Regions from separate parts of the Homo sapiens genome. Here all the other regions are linked to region 2. Evidence: promoter capture Hi-C in 16 types of primary human blood cells and fetal thymus (Javierre and others, 2016). All regions are on one chromosome and are shown on one strand. Each heading gives the region's core, a stretch centred on a gene start or on the middle of the fragment in contact. The rest is flanking DNA. Distances are from core to core; before and after follow the strand shown. Region 1 overlaps NUDCD3 (NudC domain containing 3). Region 2 holds the start of YKT6 (YKT6 vesicular SNARE protein). Region 3 overlaps NPC1L1 (NPC1 like intracellular cholesterol transporter 1). Region 4 has its middle 13 kb from the start of DDX56.

What was found. The method cuts DNA at HindIII sites, captures the fragments that hold promoters and counts their contacts. A CHiCAGO score of 5 or more calls a contact.
Region 1: a fragment that was not itself captured here is called in contact with the fragment with the promoter of YKT6 in region 2 in 11 of 17 cell types (M1 macrophages, M0 macrophages, fetal thymus and 8 more); the score reaches 8.4 in M1 macrophages.
Region 3: a contact is called between a fragment that was not itself captured here and the fragment with the promoter of YKT6 in region 2, in 1 of 17 cell types (M1 macrophages). The highest score is 5.6, in M1 macrophages.
Region 4: a fragment that was not itself captured here is called in contact with the fragment with the promoter of YKT6 in region 2 in 9 of 17 cell types (endothelial precursors, M0 macrophages, total CD8 T cells and 6 more); the score reaches 9.7 in endothelial precursors.

Annotation. Positions count from the first base shown.
Region 1 is chr7:44,461,197-44,467,836 of GRCh38, reverse strand. The region is part of intron 2 of NUDCD3 (NudC domain containing 3); the gene reads left to right. Among named protein-coding and RNA genes, the nearest start is that of NUDCD3, 26 kb to the left of the region's middle. The HindIII fragment of the contact is 2,956 bases long and covers 111-3,066 here.
Region 2 is chr7:44,198,673-44,204,831 of GRCh38, reverse strand. YKT6 (YKT6 vesicular SNARE protein) reads right to left here and starts at 3,854. Exons shown (of 7, transcript NM_006555.4): 1 at 3,593-3,854; 2 at 182-264. The coding sequence starts at 3,696. RefSeq lists a silencer at 3,678-3,747. The HindIII fragment of the contact is 756 bases long and covers 3,208-3,963 here.
Region 3 is chr7:44,519,566-44,525,631 of GRCh38, reverse strand. NPC1L1 (NPC1 like intracellular cholesterol transporter 1) reads left to right here. Exons shown (of 19, transcript NM_001101648.2): 11 at 3,390-3,580; 12 at 3,796-3,920; 13 at 4,514-4,640; 14 at 4,812-4,867. Among named protein-coding and RNA genes, the nearest start is that of NPC1L1, 19 kb to the left of the region's middle. The HindIII fragment of the contact is 2,414 bases long and covers 2,234-4,647 here.
Region 4 is chr7:44,557,202-44,563,639 of GRCh38, reverse strand. No RefSeq gene overlaps it. Among named protein-coding and RNA genes, the nearest start is that of DDX56, 13 kb to the left of the region's middle. RefSeq lists an enhancer at 1,389-2,283. The HindIII fragment of the contact is 582 bases long and covers 2,162-2,743 here.

The DNA of each region.
Region 1 (6,640 bases), core at 339-2,838, 270 kb before region 2:
TTTTCTTTTTTTTTTTTTTACTGAGGTCTTAGTTTTTTTCTTATATACAATAGGGTGATAACAATTAAAGGGCTGTTGTAAGGATTAAATGAGATAGTATAATTAAAGCTTTCAGTATAAGCTAAGTACTAGGTTTGGTTCTTGGATTCAGCAAGTATTTATGGAATACTTTTTTTTTTTAGGGGCTTGGGGCAAATGGGGTTTAAGATTGCCAGCCTGCCCCAGTCTTTTGCCTCGTCCCTGCCGGGCCTCAATGGGGACCTTGATCTCTGACCTGCCCCTTGATCAAAGAGCTCCACCTCTGACTTGTCCCTTGATCTGGGAGCTTGGGTTCTAACTTGGCAGCCTGGATCAGGGTGATTGGCCTCTGGCTGATGCAGAGGAACCTCTGGCTTCTTTTTCTTCCTTTGAGCAGTTGTACAATTTGAGTCAGGAAGGGAGAGAGGATGGCTTCTTTCTGGCCACCCACTAGCAGAAGTCTTGGAGTGGGCGCTTCGCCGTTCCCATGTTAAATGAGCAGTTCTGATTCTGTCTGGGCACATTCTACTTCTGAAAGCAAAATTTCACACCGATCTCTGTGGGTGGTATTATTGTGAGGACCATTGGAAGGGACTCTCCTTCCTTCCCTCCTTTTCTGTCATAACTTTTCTATCTTTATTGACCCATTCTTCAGTAGGGGTGAGATGCTGGTTCAGCAGGCCCTGTAATAGCAGCACACTCTGCCCTGCAGAGGTTGGAGGAAGTGACACCCAACCTTCTTCACCACGGGGGGCTGGTGAGGGTGAATGTGGGGAAAGAAACCAGTCAGTGCCCCTCAATCTTCACTGCTGATAGCTGAGCCACACCATAGATTTGGACCAGAATCTTCTCCCAAGGAGGGCCAGTGCTCTCTTCCCATGACCCTCATAGCAGAGTCTGAAACAGCAGTCTGAGTGGGTCACACGTTCCCTCACCCGGTGGGGCTTTGTGACCTAGTGATTCATGGGAAGCGGGGGTGTTTGCACACTTTCTCCCTCCTGCCCACTAGCATGCCTCCTGCTTTGCAGGCTCACCCAGAGCTTTCTATTCTGCTGCTGCTAGAGCTTCCCAATAAGTGGGTAGGTAGGACTAGCTGTGACCTAGAAAACACTTAGCATTATCCAAGTGTCCCTAGTGAAAAGCTGAATAAAGCAGGAGAAATGTCACTTTGGATGCTCAAGTTCTCCTAGGAGAACAAACTTCCAGACCTTTTGTTTCCCCTAATTTTTGAAGGCAGCATGGCTGAGCCCAGAACCACATGGCTGAGCCTGGTACCAGAGTGGCTGGCAGGATGAGCACTTCACAGATTGGTGTGGTGACTAGCAGCCTCCTTCCTGAGGCCTTTGGGGCCCTGCTGACTGTACTGGGTCTTAAGTAAGAAAAACAGAAAACTGTTTCTCTCTCCAAGGAAAACAAGCAATAAACCCCATGTACATACCTCCCTGAGTTCTGAGTAAGAAAGGAAACCAGGCATGGTGGCCCCAGAAGTGTTCAGGGCATATGGGTATGATCCCTTGCCCGAGTGGGTTGGCAGTGTCCTCTTGAGAGGCTTTTTGTGTCTGCTGAGTATTTTCCAATTTAGGGTGGCTCAGGGGATGGGATGAGGATTCTTCAACTTTTTCCTTGTTTTTTAGCTTTTTTCCTTCTCAAGTTGGCCCTGGGTGGCTGTCCCTGCTTCTAGGGGCCATTGTGAGCTTTACATTGGTGCAGTGCTGGCTCCTGGCAGCAAGCATCTGGCTTATACCACTGAGATGTCTCATGTTGGGTGGCTGTGCCACCCAGGCTTCCATGGTCCTGGGTTCACTGGTCATTTCTTTCCCAAAAGTATGCATTCACGAGGTCAGCTTTGTATCTTTGGGGCCAAGCATCTGTGATTTTGCTGCTCTAGCTTTTATTTAGATTTGACTCTCTTGCACCCCTTTTACCCTGGAACTTCCTATTTTTCCGTAAAAGTTTTTCTTTATTTTTTTTAACTGGTGTTTTGAAAAATGCTGTATGCATATATCAAAAACAATTTGAGAAGTACGGTGGGGTGTATAGTAGAACTTTGGTGGTCTTCTCACTCACGGCCCTGTCTGTGGCTCTGTTCTGCTCTACACAGTGAGGTGACTGTGTTTATCCACTCTACCCTAAGTGGCTGCTGTTACCAGTGTCTGGTGTACCGGTCAGGAGATAGTCTATGAAAATACAAGCATACTTATCTATGCCTGTCTTCTTACTTTTTTCTTTTTTGGTTAATACAGTTTATTTTTAGACTGACTTTAGGTTCACAGCAAAATTGAGCAGGAAGTGCAGAGAGTTCTCCCTGTGCCCATGGCCTCCACGATTAATGTCCCACATTCTCTACTTTTTCAGTTTTAACCTTTCCACAGATGATAGTGGCTGTATACACTGCTCATCCACATCAGTCTCAGTGGGTGTCTGCTGTGTTCTCTAACGGCTGTTCAGAAGTTTCCCACTTCATGTGGACAGGCCTTAAGGTGTTGATGTTTTACTGTGTGAACTGTGCTGTGGCTGTCTGTATTCTCTCAGCCTCATTTCTGGTGGAATTACGGGAGAATGATGTGAGATGACTGTGAGATTTTTAAAATCACTAAAAGTTTCTTTATAGTAATATAGAGGAAAATTAGAAAATACATGTAAAAAACATTAAGATTAAGGAAATTTAAAATGCTCTCTGGAAATGTCCTGGGGATGTCCCATGCTCGTGTGGGGTCTAGGGCACAGGGCGGAGAGCAAAGCATAGGTGTTTGAACTGGTGCTGCTGAGGTGGAGCAGAGCACATGTGTCAGCTTCTGTTTACACCTTCGTTTGGGCCCTTCTGCTCCCCTGCCACTTCCCTGAGCCCTGCCCTCGGCTCGGCCCCTGGGATGGATGTGGGTTATTGTTTTTGGCACTGTAAGAGGAGGGAATTTAGAATAAGGAAAAGAGGGTTGAGATTCTGTACTAAATGCCAGTATTGTTGGGTGTCTTAATCTAAAAGCTGGAATGGGGATAACGCTCCTTCTAAAAGGGTATTGGTCCATAGAATAAGAAAAAATTGAAGCTTATGTAAAGATTTGGTGGGCCGGGCATGGTGTCTCACACCTGTAATCCTAGCCCTTTGGGAGGCCAAGGCGGGCAGATTACTTGAGGCCAAGAGCTCGAGACCAGCCTGGCCAATGTGGTGAAACCCTGTCTCTACTAAAAATACAAAAATTAGCTGGGTTTGGTGGTACATGCCTGTAATCCCAGTTACTCAGGAGGCTGAGGTGGGAGGATTGCTTGAGTCTGAGAGGTGGAGGTTGCAATGAGCCGAGATTGTGCCATTGCACTGGGTGACACAGCAAGACTCCACCAAAAAAAAAAAATTGTTGATCTAGTCAAGGTACATTTCTCTGCCTGATGTTTTCTGAGACATGGGTGTATGATTTGTCTGTGCTATATTGTGTTCTAACCCAGAGGCCGTGAAATGAAAAAAACGTAATTTAACTCAAATTAATGGGACTGTGGCGCTCTTTTTCTTTCTAGTTGGCCTGCTGTCACTTTGAGGGACTGTTATTTGGAGGAAGTTAATTTGGGAAACGATTCTTGCTTCGTTTTCTTTTTCTTTTTTTTTTTTTTTTGAGATGGGGTCTTGCTCTTTAACCCAGGCTGGAGTGCAGTGGCATGATCTTGGCTCACTGCAACCTCTTCCTCTCGGGTTCAAGCAATTCTCCTGTCTCAGCCTCCCAAGTAGCTGGGACTACAGGCGTGCACCACCACGCCTGGCTAATTTTTGTATTTTTAGTAGAGACGGGGTTTCACCATATTGGTCAGGCTGGTCTCGAACTCCTAACCTCAGATGATCCACCTGCCGCAGCCTCCCAAAGTGCTGGGATCACAGGCGTGAGCCACTGTGCCCGGCCAGGAAATGATTCTTTTGGTCCCTCATACTGCTTGTGAAGTTGTAGAAGTACTAAATTCCCATTTCATCCAGAAAATATATTTCTTTGAAAATGTCCGTTGATTTTTTTTTTATTTAGTAAAAATACATTCCTTTTGTAAATAGATAAAACTCAAGACCCCTTTGATCATCCCTCAAGCCCAGTATTCTCCCAGAGATAACAATTGTTCTTGGGCTCACCTTTTATTTATTTATTTTAATTTAGTGATTCCAGTTTTTAATGTTTAAGATTGCTGGTTGATTCTTATGAGTGTAATATCCTCTCACACCACTTGGAGGCTGTTGATTGTGCCTGTTTTTAAGTCTTGTGTCTTTACTAACTCTGTGTTCTGCAGCATCACTTCTTTAGGTGTAGAATTTGTTGCCCTTTTCTCAGGGTTTGGGGATACTCAGCTGTGTATTAACTTTTAAATTTGAGGTTCCTGTTAGCCTGTCTGGATGCTGCATCAGTTTTCCAAAGTTGGTCTCTAGACATTGTTGGTGGCTTGGCTGGGCATGGACTATGTCAGCTGCTAGTTCTCAGGGATGGCAGGCTCCGTGCCCTCTGTGGGTGTCACCAGCTTGTCCTCCCAAACCAAGTGTCCAACTCTCCTTCTCTCTGGGTTCAATGCCACTTAGGTTCAAGTGAGTGGAGTTACATATGTGTTTTTGGGGAGGGGCAGGAGGTCATTCCATTGTTATACCCTAACCACATTGTCCCTTGATACTCACAAAGACAAACTAGAGCGGGCTAGGGTTTCTGGGCATCTCTGCCTCCTGACCCTATCGGGGTCAAGACACACCCAGGCTGCATGTGTAGCCTTCGCTTAGTGTCATATATTCAGTGCCAGCAGCTATCTCATGAGGGCCATGGGCACTCATACAATGCAAAAGATACTATAAATCTTTTGTATCTTTGTGTATACACACACACACACACACACACACACACACACACACACACACACAGCCTGGTTGTGTCTTGATTGGTAACCCAGAATACACAGGCAGTGTTGCTTTGGTGATGAGTATTTTCAAAAAGGCAATTACATTTTAGTAAAGGCCAGAATCAGACATGTTGTATTCCTGGAAAATTCATGATATAATAAAAGCATGCAAAAAATTATTTGGGTTTTTATCTAAAATTGAGTTAGGTTACAGGCTCAGAAGAATGTTAAACAGCTTCTGTCTACCTGCATGTCTAATGGGATGTGTGAAGGTAATGCAGGGCAGGGGACAGTGCCCATTGACTGCCCCAAGGACACCTAACGCTGCCCACACACTCCCAAACTCCCAGGAGGCAGGGCCTACCCTCCCTTTGAGAGCTGCTGATCAAGTAGGAGTTTTCTGTTTTCATTCATATTTGAAAAGTTGGAATAATCTGCTTTATGATGTCTTTATTCCCTGAAAAGTTAAGCTAATAATATTGGTCAGTGTTTTCCTATTTAGGAACATTTTCTGAACATGTGGTCATTAGGGGATTTTAGAGTATAAGTTATGTATCTGTTAATTTTTTCTGGGTAATTATGTGGTTGAGATGCTAGTGGCACACATTATGGTTACATTTGTTCAGTAACTGTAACTCGAGCCCTGGAAATTAGGCTTCTATAAAATTTCATAGCAATTCATGAAATGTTGTTTGTAAGCAAAATGTACCCAGCTCCTTGACTAAAGTTACCTTAAATATTCTTAAAGATAGAGAGGTAATACGCATTTCTTTTTCTCTTTCTGTATGTGTGTATATATGAGAGAGAGAGAGAGAGTGTGTGTGTACATGTCCCTGATAATTCCTATCTCAGAGCAGTGGAAGTCCTCTGAGTTTGATAATATGCTTTGCATGTGCTATATTTGTGGACTGCCTCAGAACATCTCTTGGGGAGACTACCTGGGTTCAGGGACCACCTGCCTATGCACCTGAATCATGTGAGCCCTGATTTTATTTACCACGGAGCCAGGCACTTGAACACTGTCCCATCCCAACTGTGTCCATCCCAACTGTGGACAGCTTTTACACGGTCCACCTCCTTGCCTTCCAGGACCCCTTCCTCCCTTCTCCTTGGCTTCTGTGGCCCTGCACCCATGAAGGCCAGCACAGGCACCACCTTCTCTAGGAAGCATTTCTGGCATTTGAGAAAATGAGCTTTCACACAGTCTGGGTTAGGGCCCGGATCCCAAACTTTCTGTTTCTTTGTTTCCTCCCCCTTTCAACCATTATGGCTGAGGTGTGGCCATTCTGCATGTCACATGGCTGGTGAAAGACTCCTTTCTCTCTCTCTTTGGTGCTTCTTCAAAGGCTCCTTCACTTTCAATGGTATAGGTCAGATTGTACCATGTGTCTGCGGCTGACTCAATCATGGTAGCTTTTCTGTCCTTCCCATAGCATCCCTAACAGGCAGGAAATGATTTAGTCTTTATGAGTGTGCCTCCCCCCACAGGGAGACAGCCTTTTCCTGTTGCAGATCACACTGATTTTAAGAGAAGACTTCTCTTCATATGCAGCTTGCCCTTCTATCCTCCCATCCCATGTATATGTGGCATACCTTCTATGATGTTTCAGGCTCTGTTCTAGCAGTCAGACATATAGAGTGGGAGATGCTCAAGGGGCTCACAGTTTAGGGGGAGCTTGGACAAACTGTTGCAATCCCATGTGATGAATGCAGAGGAAGGGTCCAGACCCATTTTCTGGAATGTCAGAAATACTTCCTGGAGAAGGTGATG
Region 2 (6,159 bases), core at 2,605-5,104:
AAGCTCAGACTTCAACAGTGGGCACAGAATTCTGCATAAATAGGAAAAGGAAGAGGTGGGAAAGAGAGAACAAGCTAGAGGAGGAGTAGGGTCCCAGTAGAAAGGAGAAAGCTGGGTGCTATGTGAGGTGAGGCATGGCAGCCAGGCCAGCACACGCACAGAAGTTGGAGGGTCTTCTTACCTTGTTCTTTGACAGAAGCTCTAGTGCCTTTCGATGAGCGCTCCACAATCAGTTGACTCGTGAAGGTCATGAATTCCTGAACGCTAAGAAACACAAAATGTATTTATTGCCTACTTCTTATCACCTTGTCCCCAACACAGTGGAAAGTGACCTCTGGGCTTATACATTAAGTAGACATTGCTTCTTGGTTTCATTCCTTTCCCTCCCATCCCTAGTAACAAACACTCTATAAATGAGCACAAATACTGATAATTATGAATTATCATCACCATGAAAGCTCCATCTGTTTGCTACCTGGCTCACCAAAACAGGTGAATTTTCTGGGGGGTTTTTCCACAGGATACAGTCAATTTTACATTTTGGTGAATGCATAATTTGGAATGCAATGGAAAAACAAGAGGCAGGTCCTGCTCTCAAGGTCCCAATAACTTCCAAGAAGCAGGACATTTATAAGAACTGCACTAGAAGAATAGTGTGCAAAAACTGTCAGGCAGAAATGCACAACCATTTATGGCTGTGTCCACATGACAGACCCTCGCAATGCCACATACACCCATAGTGAGTGCTGGCTCAGGTCTGCTGGGGCTCGTCCACAGAACGAGCGCAAGACACTCTGGATGGAACAAAAGGAAAACTGCTCATCCAAGACAAAGAAGTGGGAAATGGCTCATACAAAGGGTGAAAGGGAGAAGGTCCATCATGGGCTCAACAGAGAGATCTATCCAGAACAGAACAGTCACAGGAGATGGTACAGCCAGAGGAAGAGGTGCTGACAAGGAGCCTCCAACTGAGGATGTGATATAAAGGGCAACCAGGGCCATCAAAGCAGGGTGCTCAAATGGGAGTCTGCAGCAGGCTCCAGCAGAGCCATATAGGTAACTGAAGGCCTGACTCTGGGCCTGTGTGCTGTGCCTCCACATTAAAAAAATCAAGATTTGTGCAACAGTTAAACGAGGTAATACGTGTAAAGCACTTGGAACAATGCCTGCACACACAGTATTACTTGTTAATATCTTGAGGGACTGAAGTGATCAAAATAACCCCTCAGAAAAGAAGACCTCAAACAAGGAAGGCTTTGCAGTAAACCTAGAGACAGCATTTGAGACACGGCTATAAAGAGACAAAGGAAGAACTGCATTGTGACAGCATGTATACAAAGACCAAAAAAGCTGGGAAACTACTTTTTCAACTTTGGAATCGGGTAATTATAGGGCACAAAGGACGTAAGTAAAGCGGTCTTATAAGAAAACAAGCTCAGGCCGGACGTGGTGGCTCAAGCCTGTAATCCTAGCACTTTGGGAGGCCAAGGCAGGCGGATCACTTGAGCTCAGGAGTTCGAGACCAGCCTGGCTAACATGGTAAAACCCCATCTCTACTAAAAATACAAAAATTAGCCGGGTGTGGTGGTGCGCGCCTGTAATCCCAGCTACTTGGGAGGCTGAGGCAGGAGAATCACTTGAACCCAGGAGGCGGAGGTTGCAGTGAGCTGACACTGTGCCACTGCACTCCAGCCTGGGTGACAGAGCAAGACTCCATCTAAAATAAAATAAATAAATAAATAAATCAGCTGGGACATGTGTTGTTTTAAGACATATTAGTAGAGATGTCCCTTTAGTGTTGCAGCTGTTAGTCATTGGAAACTAGTGTGGGCATCCCAAGCAGGTGAGGTATAAGTCCTACAAGTGAAATCTCTGAGAATCTTAAGTACTAATGGGAAGGAAAAAGGAAAAAGAATCAGAGCCAAGTTGGCACCAAAAGTTCCATCTGAGAAAAGCAACAACACAGAGCAGTGAATGTAGGCCATGGTAAAGACTGCAAAGACCAAGAACCCCAAGAAGGAGCTAAAAGATAATGCAGCAATTCCGCTTCTGGGTAAATACCAAAAAAATGCGAGCAGGGTCTTGAAGAGATATTTGTACATCCATGTTCATAGCAGTATCATTCACAATGGCTGAAATGTGGAAGCAACCCAGGTGTCCACTGACAGATGAACAGATAAGCAAAATGTGGTGAATAATACAATGGATTATTCAGCCTTAAAAAGGAAAGAAATTCTGATATATGCAACAAGATGCATGAGCCTTGAGGACATTATGCTACATGAAATAAGCCAGACACACAAAAACTATATGATTCCATTTATCTAAGGTCGCCAGAAAAGTCAAAATCACAGAGACAAATTAGAATGGCAGTTGCCATGGGCTGGGGGAGAAGGGAATGTGTTTAATAGACACGAATTTGATAAAAAGGAGTTCTGGAGACGATTGACAGTGATGGCTGCACAACACTATCAATCTATTTCATATCAATGCACTCACTACACGCTTAAAGATAGTGAAGATAAATTTTGTGTACCATTTTACCACAATTAAAAATATTTTTTTAAAAGAACTCAAAGAAGCAGAAAGTTTCAACAAAATAACATTTTTTTTTTTTTACATCCAGCAAGTCCTTGGCAAAGAACTCTCATCAAGAACCAGCTGCACTGAAGCAGGGAAAACAGAATCCAAACGGCAGATTCCATCAGATTTTGAGACAAGATGACCATAGATACCGACCATGTAGGGTCCTCCTTCTTTCGTGCCTGAGTCACCCCAATCCCTCCCACGAATGGTCTGGAAGTGTCTGTGTTACTTCTAACACGTTCCAGCAATTAAAGCGCCCCAGAAACAAGTAAAAGCCTGTAAGCCCTACAGATCCCATGCTTCATTTGCATCTTCCGTGTGGAATCCTTTTGTACCACTAGTGTCCAACTAAAAAGCGTTAAACCTGGCTTTCAGTTCTAGCTGGTTGTGATATAACCTCTTGGTACCTCAGTGACTTCACCCATTAAAAACAAACAAAAAAAAGTATATCACTATCTCTCATACAGAATTGTTGGGAAGCCCCGCAAGAAAATCAAAATATGGCTCTCAAGATGCGGCACCCAAGCTCCCAGAGTCAGAATCACTGGGTGGGAAGTGTTGGTCTAAAATATAAATACCGAGGCCTCAATCTACTAATTCAGAACATCTTGGCATGAAGCTTGGAAATCTGCACTACTTCACAGTCTCCTTAAAATTTTTACACGACAGAAATTTGAAAAACACTGAGTAGAGAACTATATTCTAGAATGGTATAAGCTCTTAAAGAGCTAATGTTGGTTCCTCAAAGGTAGAGTCCACGGCCAGATTCCATTATAGGAGACCAAGCCCGGACAGCAGACCCCGGGCCCTCCCCACCCCGCCCCGCCTCTGACTCGGACACCAGCCTTCTCAGACCCCGGGCACTCGGCCACCCCGCCCTGCCCCTACCCTTGGCCTCCTCCACCCTCCCCTCATCCCTCCGCCGACCCCAGGCCCACTCCGACTCGGACCCCCACCCCAGTCCTCTCCGCCCGACCGCCACGGCCCACCAGCCTGTGCCGCTCACCTGGATCTCTGGAAAAAGCTGAAGGAAGACACATCGTATGCGGCTTTGAGCAGCACCACCTTGGCCTCGCCTTTGTAGAGGACGCTGAGGCTGTACAGCTTCATGGCTCCGCGCCCTCAGGCCGCCCGCCTGCCCAGCTGCGGGACCCGTTCTCAGGGAGCAGCGCGGCCGCCGCCCCTCGGGACCGCCGCCGCCTACCGGCCTCTCAGCAGCCGGCTGCTGACGGGGCCACCGCCGGCTTCCTCCTCCTGGCTCGCAATCCACTTCCGGATCCGGTCAGCCTGGTTGAGGGTTCTCATACTCCGGATGCAGAAATGTGAGCCCGGAAGTACAATGCAGCGAGGGGCGGGATGCCACGCCTCGCGTAAGCTTGGCCCCTCCCTGCTCGCCAGGTGGAGTCGGGCGCGCGGCGGGATACCGTACTGTCTTGTGCTGGGTGGTGCTGGGCCTCCCACAGCGGCCTGAACCCTTCTTTTTTTTTTTTTTCTTTTCTTTCTTTTTTTAAAGTAAGCATTTTTTTTATTATTATACTTTAAGTTTTAGGGTACATGTGCACAACGTGCAGGTTTGTTACATATGTATACATGTGCCATGTTGGTGTGCTGCACCCATTAACTCGTCATTTAGCATTAAGTATATCTCCTAATGCTATCCCTCCCCCCTCCCCCCACCCCACAACAGTCCCCGGTGTGTGATGTTCGCCTTCCTGTGTCCATGTGTTCTTATTGTTCAATTCCCACCTATGAGTGAGAACATGCGGTGTTTGGTTTTTTGTCCTTGCAATAGTTTGCTGAGAATGATGGTTTCCAGCTTCATCCATGTCCCTACAAAGGACATGAACTCATCATTTTTTATGGCTGCATAGTATTCCATGGTGTATATGTGCCACATTTTAGGAGGAGCTTGTACCATTCCTTCTGAAACTATTCCAATCAAAAGAAAAAGAGAGAATCCTCCCTAACTCATTTTATGAGGCCAGCATCATCCTGATACCAAAGGGTGGCAGAGAGAGACACAACAAAAAAAGAATTTTAGACCAATATCCTTGATGAACATTGAAGCAAAAATCCTCAGTAAAATACTGGCAAACCGAATCCAGCAACACATCAAAAAGCTTATCCACCATGATCAAGTGGGCTTCATCCCTGGGATGCAAGGCTGGTTCAACATACGAAAATCAGTAAACGTAATCCAGCATATAAACAGAACCAAAGACAAAAACCACATGATTATCTCAATAGATGCAGAAAAGGCCTTTGACAAAATTCAACAACCCTCATGCTAAAAACTCTCAATAAATTAGGTATTGATGGGACGTATCTCAAAATAATAAGAGCTATCTATGACAAACCCACAGCCAATATCATACTGAATGGACAAAAACTGGAAGCATTCCCTTTGAAAACTGGCACAAGACTGGGATGCCCTCTCTCACCACTCCTTTTCAACATAGTGTTGGAAGTTCTGGCCAGGGCAATCAGGTAGGAGAAGGAAATAAAGGGTATTCAATTAAGAAAAGAGGAAGTCAAATTGTCCCTGTTTGCAGATGACATGATTGTATATCTAGAAAACCCCATCGTCTCAGCCCAAAATCTCCTTAAGCTGATAAGCAACTTCAGCAAAGTCTCAGGATACAAAATCAATGTGCAAAAATCACAAGCAGTCTTATACACCAATAACAGACAGAGAGCCAAATCATGAGTGAACTCCCATTCACAATTGCTTCAAAGAGAATAAAATACCTAGGAATCCAACTTACAAGGGATGTGAAGGACCTCTTCAAGGAGAACTACAAACGACTGCTCAATGAAATAAAAGAGGATACAAACAAATGGAAGAACATTCCATGCTCATGGGTAGGAAGAATCAGTATCGTGAAAATGGCCATACTGCCCAAGGTAATTTATAGATTCAATGCCATCCCTATCAAGCTACCAATGACTTTCTTCACAGAATTGGAAAAAACTAAAGTTCATATGGAACCAAAAAAGAGCCCGCATTGCCAAGTCAATCCTAAGCCAAAAGAACAAAGCTGGAGGCATCACACTACCTGACTTCTAACTATACTACAAGGCTACAGTAACCAAAACAGCATGCTACTGGTACCAAAACAGAGATATAGAGCAATGGAACAGAACAGAGCCCTCAGAAATAATGCCGCATATCTACAAGCATCTGATCTTTGACAAACCTGACAAAAACAAGCAATGGGGAAAGGATTCCCTATTTAATAAATGGTGCTGGGAAAACTGGCTAGCCATATGTAGAAAGCTGAAACTGGATCCCTTCCTTACACCTTATACAAAAATTAATTCAAGATGGATTAAAGACTTACATGTTAGACCTAAAACCATAAAAACCCTAGAAGAAAACCTAGGCAATACCATTCAGGACATAGGCATGGGCAAGGACTTCATGTCTAAAACACCAAAAGCAATGGCAACAAAAGCCAAAATTGACAAATGGGATCTAATTAAACTAAAGAGCTTCTGCACAGCAAAAGAAACTACCATCAGAGTGAACAGGCAACCTACAGAATGGGAGAAAATTTTTGCAACCTACTCATC
Region 3 (6,066 bases), core at 2,191-4,690, 320 kb before region 2:
TGAGTAGCTGGGACTACAGGTATATGCCACCATGCCTGGCTTGTCTTTGGTTTTTGACAGCTAAATTATAATATCCAGCTGGGTGCAGTGGCTTATGCCTGTAATCCCAGCACTTTGGGAGGCCAAGGTGGGTGGATCACAAGGTCAAGAGATCAAGACCATCCTGGCCAACATGGTGAAACCCCATCTCTACTAAAAATACAAAAATTAGCTGGGCATGGTTGTGCGCACTTGTAGTCCAAGATACTTGGGAGGCTGAGGCAGGAGAATCACTTGAACCCAGGAGGCAGAGGTTGCAGTGAGCCGAGATTGTGCCACTGCACTCCAGCCTGGCAACAGAGCAAGACTCCATCTCAAAAAAAAAAAATTATAATATCCGTTGGTGTGGGTTTCTTTAGTTTATCCTATTGGAGTTTATTGAGTTTCTTGAATGTTTATATTCATGTCTTTCATCAAATTTGGGGAGTTCTGGCCATAATTTTTTCAAATAATCTCACTTCCCCTTTCTCTTTTCTTCTGGAATTCTTACAATTCATATTTTGGTCTATTTGATGATGATGATGTCTGACAGGTCCCTTAGGCTCTGCTCTGTTCACTTTCGTTATTTTTTTTCCTTTCTCTTCTTCAGACTCAGTAATTTCAATGGTCTTATCTTCAGTTTGCTAATTCTTTCTTCTGACTGCTTTTGAATCCCTCTAGTGAATTTTTCATTTAAGTTACTGTACTTTTTAGCTCCAGAGTTTTTTTGCTCTTTTTTATGTTTCCTCCTCATTGATATTTCCATTTTGTTCATAAATTTTTCCTTGACTTTGTTTTCTTTTAGCTCTTTGAGCAACTTTAAGGCAATTGTTTTATTCATTTATTTTATTATTTATTTATTTATTTTTTGAGACAGAGTCTTGCTCTATCACCCAGGCTGGAGTGCAATGGTGTGATCTCGGGTCACTGCAACCTCTGCCTCCTGGGGTTAAGCCTCAGCCTCCCAAGTAGCTGGGATTACAGGTGCCTGCCACCATGCTTGGCTAATTTTTGTATTTTTAGTAGAGACAGGGTTTCACCATATTAGCCAGGCTGGTCTCGAACTCCTGGCCTCATGTGATCTGCCTGCCTTGGCCTTCTGATGTTGTGGGATTACAGGCATCAGCCACTGTGCCTGGCTGAGACAATTGTTTTGAAGTCTTTGTCTAGTAAGTCTGCTGTCTGGTCTTACCCAGGAACAGTTTCTGTTGGTTAATATTTTCCCTTTGAATGGGCCATGTTTTTCTTTTTCTTGGTGTGTTTTTGGTTGAAAAATGGACATTTGATTCTTATAATGTGGTAGCTCTGGAGATCAGATTCTCCTTCTTTCCCAGGGCTTGCTTTATTTTATTTATTGCTGTTGGTGTTTCTGTGCTGGGGATCAGCCAAAGGCACAGAGTTAATGTCTTCTCAGGTATTTTTGAGACTGCATTTTTCTCTGAGCATTTATGCAGTGTGGTGACTGTCTAAATATCCCTATATTTATGGTTGCTTTTGAATGTCCTTGTCCTTATATGTATGGTTCCCAAAAGGAGAAAAAGGGAAAAATGAAGGTGTCGGGGATAGGTGCTTACTCTTTAAATCTCCTGGAAGTCACTTTAGTAAGATGTGGAGGTGGTTGCAACAACGGTGGTGGGAGTTGCATTAGTGGCTGCCTGCCTGTGTATCTGTACCACCAATATCAGAAGTAATGATCAATTATCAGAACTCAGATCCTTGATATTTGAACTTATTTATTTATTTATTAGAGACAGGGTCTGGCTCTCTTGCTGAGGCTGAAGTGCAGTGGTGCAATCATAGGTCACTGCAGCAGCAAACTTCCAGGCTCAAATGATTCTCCTATTTCAGCCTCCTGAGTAGCTAGGACTACAGGCATGTGCCACCACACCCAGCTAACTTTTGTATTTTTTTTTGTAGAGACAGGGTGTCGCTATGTGCCCAGATCGGTCTCCCACTCTTGGGCTCAAGTGACCCTCCTGCTTGCCCTCCCAAAGTTCTGAAATTACAAGTGTAAGCCATCATGCCCAGCTGATATTTGGTGGATGGTGTCCTTGCCTACCTGGCTCCTGCAAGCTGTGTACAAGCTGCTTCTGGAAAGCATACACAGCTGCATGCCTTGAGGCTGGGAGTGGCAAATGGGTAGCTGCTACTGTACTAAAGCTGAGATTGCCTGAAATTAACCACAATTTACTGTCCAAGCCTTATCCTGGAAGCTTCCAGCCCTCAATAGACTCCAGAGTTCCAAAATCGTTACACTAGGGCCGGTGTGGTGGCTCATGCCTGTAATCCCAGCCATTTGGGAGGCCGAGACGGGTGGATCACTTGAGGTCAGGAGTTTGAGACAAGCCTGGCCAACATGGTGAAACCCCATCTCTTTTAAAAATACAAAAATCAGCTGGGAGCGGTGGCACATGCCTGTAATCCTAGCTACTCAGGAGGCTGAGGCACAAGAATCGCTTGAACCCAGGAGGCGGAGGTTGCAGTGAGCAGAGATCGCGCCACTGCACTCCAGCCCAGAAGACTCCATCCATCTCAAAACAAAACAAAACAAAACAAAAACAAAATAGTTATACCAGACAAATTGTTGTCTAGCTGGGGAGAGGGATTCCTGACACTTCCTACTGTGCCATTTTCCCTAATGTCACTCTGAGCCTTTATGTTATAGAAGGGAGCAGACCATGAGGATGCCTGGTGCATGGCTTTGAGGGTGTGCACACTGACATTTATATGTGCACACAAATATGGGCCGTTGTCACAGGCCAGCTTGTTAGACGGTGGCTGTGCCATATTGGGGGTGATAGGAAGGGGTACAATTATGTGTCTGTGCATGTTTGTGTGTGTCAGTGTGTGTTCATGTGAGGTGATAGGTGTTGCTCTGTGTTTGTACCTGCATAAGTGTACTTCTGTTTGCACCTGTGATTATACCTATTCTGTGAACCTTGGAGTATGTTCATCTGGGGGTACACCTAAAACTGTGTTCCGGTGTAACTGTACAGTGCACATACATCTTGAGGGTACCCCTGAGTGTGTGTGTCTGTGCATGTCCTTCTCTATATGTACCTTGTGTGTGACCTCTGAGCATGTACATCTCTGTGTATATTTTGTGTACTTGTGTGCATGTACCTCTGTGTACCTCTAAGCATGTATCTACGTGTATATCTCTGAGTGTCCCACTGAGCACATCCCTTTGAGTGTGTAACTGCATGTGTGTCTCTGAACATGTTCCTCTGTGTGTTCCTCTGATCATGGACCTCTGAACATGTGCCTTTTAGCATGTACCTCTGTGTGTACCTTCGAGAGTGTGAGCTGGATTGAGCCCTTTAGGGGTGTGCATAGCGAACCAAAGCTCACTGACCCTCCTCCACTCCTAGGACTCGTACCTGCTTGACTATTTCCTCTTTCTGAACCGCTACTTCGAGGTGGGGGCCCCGGTGTACTTTGTTACCACCTTGGGCTACAACTTCTCCAGCGAGGCTGGGATGAATGCCATCTGCTCCAGTGCAGGCTGCAACAACTTCTCCTTCACCCAGAAGATCCAGTATGCCACAGAGTTCCCTGAGCAGTGAGTTCCTGGCCCGCCCCAAACCCCAGCCTACTCCCTGTTTGAGTCCCTCCAGTCCTCTCCAGTCCCCTCTTCCTGATGTTCTATCCCTGTCCTGCTGCCCTGCTGCCTTGCTGCCGTATGCCTGGGGAGGGCTGCGTGGGGGTTGGGCCACGAGAAGGACCCACCACCCTGCCCAGCTGGCCTTTTCACCCTTCCTCCCACCTGCCCCTTAGGTCTTACCTGGCCATCCCTGCCTCCTCCTGGGTGGATGACTTCATTGACTGGCTGACCCCGTCCTCCTGCTGCCGCCTTTATATATCTGGCCCCAATAAGGACAAGTTCTGCCCCTCGACCGTCAGTGAGTGTGGGGCCATGGGGACTCACTGTCCACCACAGCTCGGGCAAACTGAGGCAACAGAAAGGAGAGGACTGGAGAGGCTCCCTCAACCTCTCCCACGCATCCTGCAGGGTCTGTCGGGGGCATGGGTGCAGATGTGGCCTGAGGGACAGGCACTCTGTGAGAAGCACCTGTGTGGGTGACCGTGCTGGCCCGTGGGCATCACACATGTATACTGCTGTGTACTGTGCCCCCATTTTCAGAGCACATGGTGCTCCCGGGTGGCAGGGCAGTGGGGAGTCAGGAGGGGAGAGCTGCTGAGGTTAGCACATGGCCCTGCCGCCCAAAGCAGTGGCATTTGTAGGTGGAGAGGCCTTTGTGGGGCCTGTTTTTCTGCCCCAAACTTCCTTTCCCCTTCTGCCTGTAGGTGCCCACAGTTTCTATAGCCAAGAGGAGAACTTCTCCCACAAATGACAAATGCAAATCCCCCTAGAAGCGACTGGTTGAGGCTGGAGTGCCCAGGACCTTTGATGGGATTGTTGGGGAAGGAGGGGCACAAAGCAGGAGCTGCTGGCCCTGGGGTGTCACTGCCCAGACCCCTGCTTTCTCTGCAGACTCTCTGAACTGCCTAAAGAACTGCATGAGCATCACGATGGGCTCTGTGAGGCCCTCGGTGGAGCAGTTCCATAAGTATCTTCCCTGGTTCCTGAACGACCGGCCCAACATCAAATGTCCCAAAGGGTAAGCTTGGGAGGGCCTTCTGCTGGGGAGGACAGACATGTGGGACACAGGATGGGGTTGAATATAGAGAGGCAGGAGGAGGCTATCAGGGGCCTCTCTGGGGTGGCTGTGGGCTGGGCAGATGAAAGAAGCTTCGTCCCTGGCTAAGCCTTTGCCCTGACCTTCTTGCAGCGGCCTGGCAGCATACAGCACCTCTGTGAACTTGACTTCAGATGGCCAGGTTTTAGGTAAGCATGGCCTTGCCTGGAGGGGAGGACATAAATCGGTTGCTCTGGAGGGCCCCCGAAAACCCCAGGGAACAGCCTGTCACATGTTGTCTCCCTCCTTTGTCAGGAGGTTCTCACTGCGCTGGCCCTGTCAGCAGGGGTCTTGTTTCCCAGCTCCACATCTCAGACTTCACCCCTTCTCTCACTCCCAAGTCCATGGTCAGTGCTAAGTTTGTGGAATTGATTCAGCAGTTGATACCATACTTGGGAGTTCTCCACACCCTGGCTAAGCACCTTTCTTACCAGCACAAATTACACCCAAAGGGCAGCTGGTTAAATGAATTAGGATGCTTGGCACAGCACAATCCTAGCAGTCATTTAAAGTAACAAGAGGCTGGGCGCCTGTAATCTTAGCACTCTAGGAGGCCAAGGCGAGAGGATCTCTTGAATCCAGGAGTTTGAGACCAGCCCAGGCAACAGTAGGGAGACCCTCTTTTTTTTTTTTCGAGACGGAGTCTCGCTTTGTTGCCCAGGCTGGAGTGCAGTGGTGCAATCTCGGCTCACTGCAACCTCCACTTTCCGGGTTCAAGCGATTCTCCTGCCTCAGCCTCCTGAGTAGCTGGGACTATAGGAGCATACCATCATGTCTGGGTAATTTTTGTATTTTCAGCAGAGATGGAATTGCACCACGTTGGCCAAGCTGGTCTCAAACTCCTGACCTCAGGTGATATGCCTGCCTTGGCCTCCCAAAGTGCTAGTATTACAGGCATGAGCCACTGTGCCCGGCCTCCTCTACAAAGTAAAATTTAAAAAATTGCCCGGGTGTGGTGGCGTGTGCCTGTAGTTCCAGCTATTCAGAAGGCTGGGCGGGAAGAATGCCTGAGTCTGGGAGGTTGAGGCTGTAGTGAACTGTGATCGCAACACTGCACTCCAGCCTGGGCAACAAAGTGAGACCCTCTCTCAAAAAAAAAAAGAAAGAAAAAAGTAACAAGAGAGATGCAGTTGGACTGACAGGAAAAGGACCCACAACATGCTGTCAGCTTATACAGCAGATGGCAGAACAAGACAGCCATCTGTGTAAAGGAGCTGGCCATAGCTCCGTGCAGACATGCTCGGTGTAGGGGCCCTAAGGGAGCTCGTGCTGGAGATGGACATGGGGGTCGTCGGTGGGTGGGGGAGTTTTTGAAGGATGATCTCACTTTGTACTGAAATAATTCATA
Region 4 (6,438 bases), core at 1,203-3,702, 360 kb before region 2:
GGACTTAGTCTGGCCAAAGCCTGTGCCCTTTGCACAAATGTGCAAATCAGGACTGGGGCAGGCCTTGGATGAGGGTATGTGTGCTATGGGCAAATGAACCTAGGGCTGTCCAGGGCCAAACAGCACAGAGGGCATGTGGGCCTGGAAGGGAGGAAGGAGGTGTGGCACATGCTGCGTGGAAGCCTAAGGCTTCACTAAACAGCAGAGAAGCTTGGATGGTTTTCAGGCTGGTGACGCCCTGGGCTGAAGCAGGAAGGTCAGGAGAATGCAGTGGCCTCTCCACTCTGGGCTGGCACAGTTTTGCCCACATGTATACCTGAATGGGTGCCTGGCTGTGTGGACTGTGCTATGGTCTGGAATCAGATGGACAAGGCACAGTCTATGAGGCAAGGAGCAGAGATGGTCAGCCAATGCAGACTGCTCAATAGTCATGTTGGGAGTTCAGGGTACTGGAGGGCTATAAGGGGCCCTCACCCAGTTGGAGAGAATGCTGCCTTCCTTGAGAAAGTGAGGTTTATGCTGAGATGGGAAGGGTGGGAGGGAACAGCAATCCTAGCAGGGGAGACAGCATGTGCAAATTCCCTGGGGTGGGAGGGATCCCTGCACATTTGAGGGTGAAAAGACCAGAGGGTTGTTACCAAAATATGCAATGGGGGCTGAAAATTTGATTTTTTAAAAAAATGTAATAGTCACATATTAAAAATTCAAAGGATACAGAAGATGGAGGGTTTTTGAAAACAAGGGCATTCTTTTTTTTTTTCTTTCTTTTTTTTTTTTTTTTTTTTGAGATGGAGTCTTGTTCTGTCACCCAGGCTAGAGTGCAGTGGCGCCATCTCGGCCCAGTACAACCTCCGCCTCCTGGGTTCAAGCGATTCTCCCGCCTCAGCCTCCTGAGTAGCTGGGATTACAGGCACCCACCATCATGCCTGGCTAATTTTTGTATCTTTGTGGAGATGGGATTTCACCATGTTGGCCAGGATGAACTCCTGACCTCGGGTAATCCACCCGCCTCGGCCTCCCAAAGTTCTGGGATTACAGGCGTGAGCCACCACACCCGGCCAACAGCATTCTGATGATATAGCTGGTGATAGCAGATGGGAGGACAGTGGTGTGCCCAGAAACCTCTGGACCTGGAGCACAAAAGGCTCAGGGTGCATTCCCAGCCCAGCGGATTCTCTGCCTGCATCTGCTAAGGATGAATGACTCAGCTTTGGGGGAATTAGTTGTGAGACTTTGGACTTCAGGGGCGGGGCCCCAAGAGGCAATGGTGATAAAGTTGAATTTGAGCAGGGAAGGTGCCCCGTCAGCTGTCATCCTTTTCCCCAGGAACATCATTATGTAAGACTCCTGCCTTGTGGAACAGGCTGTGAGTTGCTGCTCTTCCATTCCTCACAGCCATGTTTACAAGGGTAAGGAAGGGAAGGAGTGGTTCATCATTGCAGAGAGGAAGGTGCCTTGGCCAAGCAGACCTGCTCTGTGCCAGGCATGACACTGGGCAAATGCACAGTATTTAGTTTATTTATCCTGAAATGCTTTCAGAACTCAATGCATCCAGTGTCTTGTTATCCCTCCAGCCTATCCGCAAACCTGCTGAGATGCAGTAGGTTTGGCGTAGAATGCACTGAGGGTATCTGTGGCAACAGTGGGCTAAAGAACAAGGCACATCAAGGGGGTCTTCCGACGAACACCCCAAGGGTTGCCTCCACCACGCAGCATCCTGCTGTGGCTCGCCTCAATGTCCCAGGTGCTCTGTGGGCACAGTGGCCAGGTCAGACCATGATGGCCACTTTCTGACTGTATGGTCTCATACAGGGAAGGCATGTCACTTTTCTTGGCCTTCTCTAGGTTCTCACCTGTAAGTGGGGGTAAAATGTCCCCTCCAAGGGTTCCTGTAGGGGCCGAAGTGGCTCAGGCACCTGGCACGCCTGTTGCAGCCCAGCTCTGTGCTAGCACCTCCCAATGCCTGTTGAATCCACCATTGCCTTCTGGGACGTGTCTCCATACTTCCACGAGAATACGTCTAGGGCACAGCCTGGGGTTCTGCATTTGAGTTCTCACCTCCGTCCCAGGTGAGCCCAAAGGTGCTGGTCTCTAGTCCACATTTGAGAGGCAAGGCTTTAATATCCACCACACACATTTATTTTGCAGATTGGCAAAAGCTTAGATTAACTAGCCAGCCCAATGTCACTTGGCTAAGTGGTAGAGGGGAGGTGCTGTGTCTGTCAGACTCTAGTCTGGAATTGGAGGTGGGATACCTAGGTTCAAGTCCTGGATATGAAACTTCCCTGTCACATCCCTTCTCTGAGCCCAACACTTAATCCGAAAGTCATGGTGACGTGGGAGGCCAGGTAAAGTAGGAGATGTCTAGCTAGATTGGAATTTCAAATAATGAGGAATTTTACAGCATAACCGTGTCCTGTCCAATATTTGGGACATATGCTAAAACAGATATTCACTGTTTCTCTGAAATTCCAGTATAGCTGGGCATCCTGCTTTTTATTTGCTAAATGTGCAACCCTAGGTTGTGAGACCTCTCTGACCCACGCGTGGCCTCCTCCAGGAAGTCTTCCTGAGCGCCAGCCTGGGCTGGGCATCCTCCTCTGTGTGTCTGATGCTGCTCTGACCTCATGAAGCTCTAATTGCTGGGGCCTGTCCCCACCTTGATGTGGGAGCTCTTCGGAGGCAAGGACCATGCCAAGTTGCATATCTGTGTGTTCCTGAGTCCAGTGGTTCATTAAAAGCTTTTCCCTGAGAGTATCCTTAATGCCCCGGAGGTAATTCTCTTTTCACAACCTTTCTACTGCCTGAGGCTCTTGAGGACTAATTCCAGTTAAAAGCAGAGGGAAGGATGTGGTAGGAATAGCACCGCATGGAGCTGGACTCTGTGCCCCCCGTGCAGCAGGCAGGACCCTCCCTCTGTGTCACCTCCATGACTCAGGGCTCAGACAGGAAGCCCTCATCCTCGTCCTCCACGGGTCTCATGTTTGTCAAGGCCAGGGGTATCAGGCGTAGTAGGCAGGGGCCCATGCCTGCTCCCATCTGGGAGACCCTGCTTCAGGCCCCTCTCATGGCCCCTTTTGTTCCCCACAGCTCACTGTACAACTTGTTGGTTCAAGGTTAGAAAATGCAGTTTTGTGTTGAGGGGGACCATCACAGAAGACAAAGGGTCCAGGATGAAGGCTACCCATCAGCTTGCAGGGCTGGGACGAATGTGAGAAGCAACTGATGCTTGTACAGTAGAGAGTAAGCATGTAGGGCCAGTCCCCAGACCTTGCCTCCCCTCAGCCTTGACATGTGATCTCCATTTCTGGTGGCTACCCCTGCTAGTGGTCTGGCTTCACCATCTTAGCCCTGCCCAGGCTAAGACCCTCTTCCATCAGAACCTGCAGCTGGGATGCTGGGAGCAACAGTCAGGGCAGAGCTGCCCATCCTCCCATTCAGGGAGCCCTCAGGAAGTACTTGGGACCCCCCGACCCTTTATAGATTCAGCCTGCCTCATCCCCTCCATGGACCAACACGCCCTTCTCCTCAGCAGTGGGCTGGGGGACCAGGCTCCTGAACTGCTTGTGGCTGTTCCAGCAGTGGGGAGATGGAGGGTCACACAGTCCTGAGTCTATGGCTTTGACAGCAACGGGTCCTGACTGCAGCTGTATTCGTGAAGCGAAGTACCTAATACAATCACCGAAATGTACAAATTGGACCCCTATAGGTTCAAGGATTCTTGGTGTAGGAGGTATGGCCCCCGCCCCGGGAACCAGGACCTCAGCTTTTAGAAGCAAAATGCATGAATGCAGTGATGGTTAGGCCAAGTGCCAAGGGAGACAGCCAACCCCTGCTATCATGGCCAGAGGAGGGAGAGACCACTCAGGCCTGGGTGGTGGTAGAAATCCTCACTGCCAAGGAGATTGTATGCGCAGGCGTTGGGAAGGCCCGGAGAAGCCTGAGAGACAGGCTTGGCTTGGTTATAGCAGAGCTGGGTGGAGGGAGCAGATTAGTTGGCTTAGCACAGGCTTCCTGCAGGGTGGTGGTTCTTGGCCAGATTTGCCCCAGTGGGGCTTTTGGGAAAGTATAGAAATATTGTTGTTTTTTTTTTTTTGAGACAGAGTCTTGCTCCGTTGCCCAGGCTGGAGTGCAGTGGTGTGTTCTTGGCTCACTACAACCTCCATCCACCTCCCGGGTTCAAGTGATTCTCCTGCCTCAGCCTGCCAAGTAGTTGGGACTACAGGCATGTGCCACCACACCCAGCTAATCTTTGTATTTTTAGGAGATGGGGTTTCACCATGTTGGCCAGGCTGGTCATGAACTCCTAACCTCAAGTGATCTGCCCGCCTCAGCCTCCCAAAGTGCTGGGATTACAGGTGTGAGCCACTGTGCCAGCCAAGAAACATTTTAGGTTATCATATCTGGGCAATGGATGCTACTGGCTTTAGGTGGGAAGAGGCCGGGGATACTGTTAAAATCATGCAATGTACAAGGCAGCCCCCACAAGAGAGTTCTGTGGTTGAAAATGTCCGTAGTGTTGAGGTTGAGGACTCTGCTGTGGGGCAACAGTAGGAGAAGGGGTGCTAATAGTCAGGTGGTGGACAGCAGGGAATTACAGGTACATCAGTTAGGAGTGTATACAGCTGCAAGTAAGAGACCACCAGATGGCAGGAACAGTGGGAACAGAATGGTTTATCTTTTTCATGTGTCAAGATAAGTGGTGCTAAAGTCAGGCATGGTGGCCCTCACTTATAATCCCAGCAATTCAGGAGGCTGAAGAGTGAGGATCACTTGAGGCCAGGAGTTCAAGACCAGCCTGGGCAACACAGTGAAATGCCATCTCTAAAAATAAAAATTAAAAAAATTAGCCAGGGGCTGGGTGCAGTGGCTCACGCCTGTAATCCCAGCACTTTGGGAGGCTAAGGCGGGTGGATCACCTGAGGTCAGGAGTTCGAGACCAGCCTGGCCAACATGGTGAAACCCTGTCTCTACTAAAAATATAAAATTAGCTGGGCATGGTGGCACACCTGTAATTCTACTTACTCGGGAGGCTGAGGCAAGGGAATCACTTAGAACTGGGGAGGCGTAAGTTGCAGTGAGCTGAGTCACGCCATTGCACTCCAGCCTGGGCGACAGATCAAGACCCTGTCAAGGAAAGGAAAGGAGAGGGGAGGGGAGGGGAGGGGGGAGGGGGGAGGGGGGAGGAGAAGGAGGGAGGGGGAAGATTAGCTAGGCATGGTGATGAGCACCTGTAGTCCCTCCTAGCTACTCCGAAGGCTACGGTGGGAGAACTGCTTGAGCCTGGGAGGTCAAGGCTGCAGTTAGTGATGATCGTGTCACTGCACTCCAGCCTGGGTGAAAAAGTGAGACCCTGTCTCAAAAAGAAAAAAGACAGATAGGAAGAAAGAAAGAAGAAAAGAAAGAAAAAGAGAGAGAGAGAGAGAGGGAGGGAGGGAGGGAAAGGAAAGGAAGGAAGGAAATGCATCTGATTTTTGTGTATTGATTTTGTATCCTATAATTTTGCCAAGTTCATTTATTAGTTCTAGTAATTTTTTTTATTAAAAAAAATTTTCAAGATAGGGTCTCACCCTGTTGTCTAGGCTGGAGTGCAGTGGCACGGTTATAGCTCACTGCAGTCTCCATTGCCAGGACTCAAACAGTCCTCCTGCCTCAGCCTCCTGAATAGCTGGGACTACAGGCATGCCAGCATGCCTGGCTAATTATTTTATTTTTTGTAGAGATGGGGTCTCACGTTGTTGCCCAGGCTGGTCTTAAACTCCTGGGCTCAAGTGATTGTCCTGCCTCAGTCTCCCAAAGTGCTGGGATTATAGGCATGCTCCACCACACTCAGACAAGTTATAATACATTTTCAGTGGCGTATTTACTGTTTTAGAATATAAAATCTATCTGCAAATAGAGATAAGTTTAATTTTTTTCTAATTTGGACACTCTTTTCCTTCCTCCCTCCCCTTCCCCTTTCCCTTCCCCTTCCCTTTTCCCTCCCTCCCTCTCTCCCTCTCTTTCTCTCTCTCTCTTTCTCTCTTTTCTCTTTTCTTTTCATTTCATTTTTGCCAAATTGCTCTGGTTAGAACTTTTAACACTATGTTGAATAGAAGTGGTGACAGTATCTCATTCCTAGACACTTTTCGAAAGAAGACATACATGCAACCAACAAACATTTGAAAAAAAACTCAATATCACTGATCATTAAAGAAACAGAAATCAAAACCACAATGAGATACCATCTCACATCAGCCAGAATGGCTATTATTAAAAAGTAAAAAAAAGAAAAAATAACATGCTGGCAAGGTCATAGAGAAAAGGGAACACTTGTACAGTGTTGGTGGGAGTGTAAATTAGGTCAACCATTGTGGAAAGCAGCGTGGCAATTCCTCAGAGACCTAAAGGCAGAACTACCATTCGACCCAGCAATCCCATTACTGGGTATATACCCAA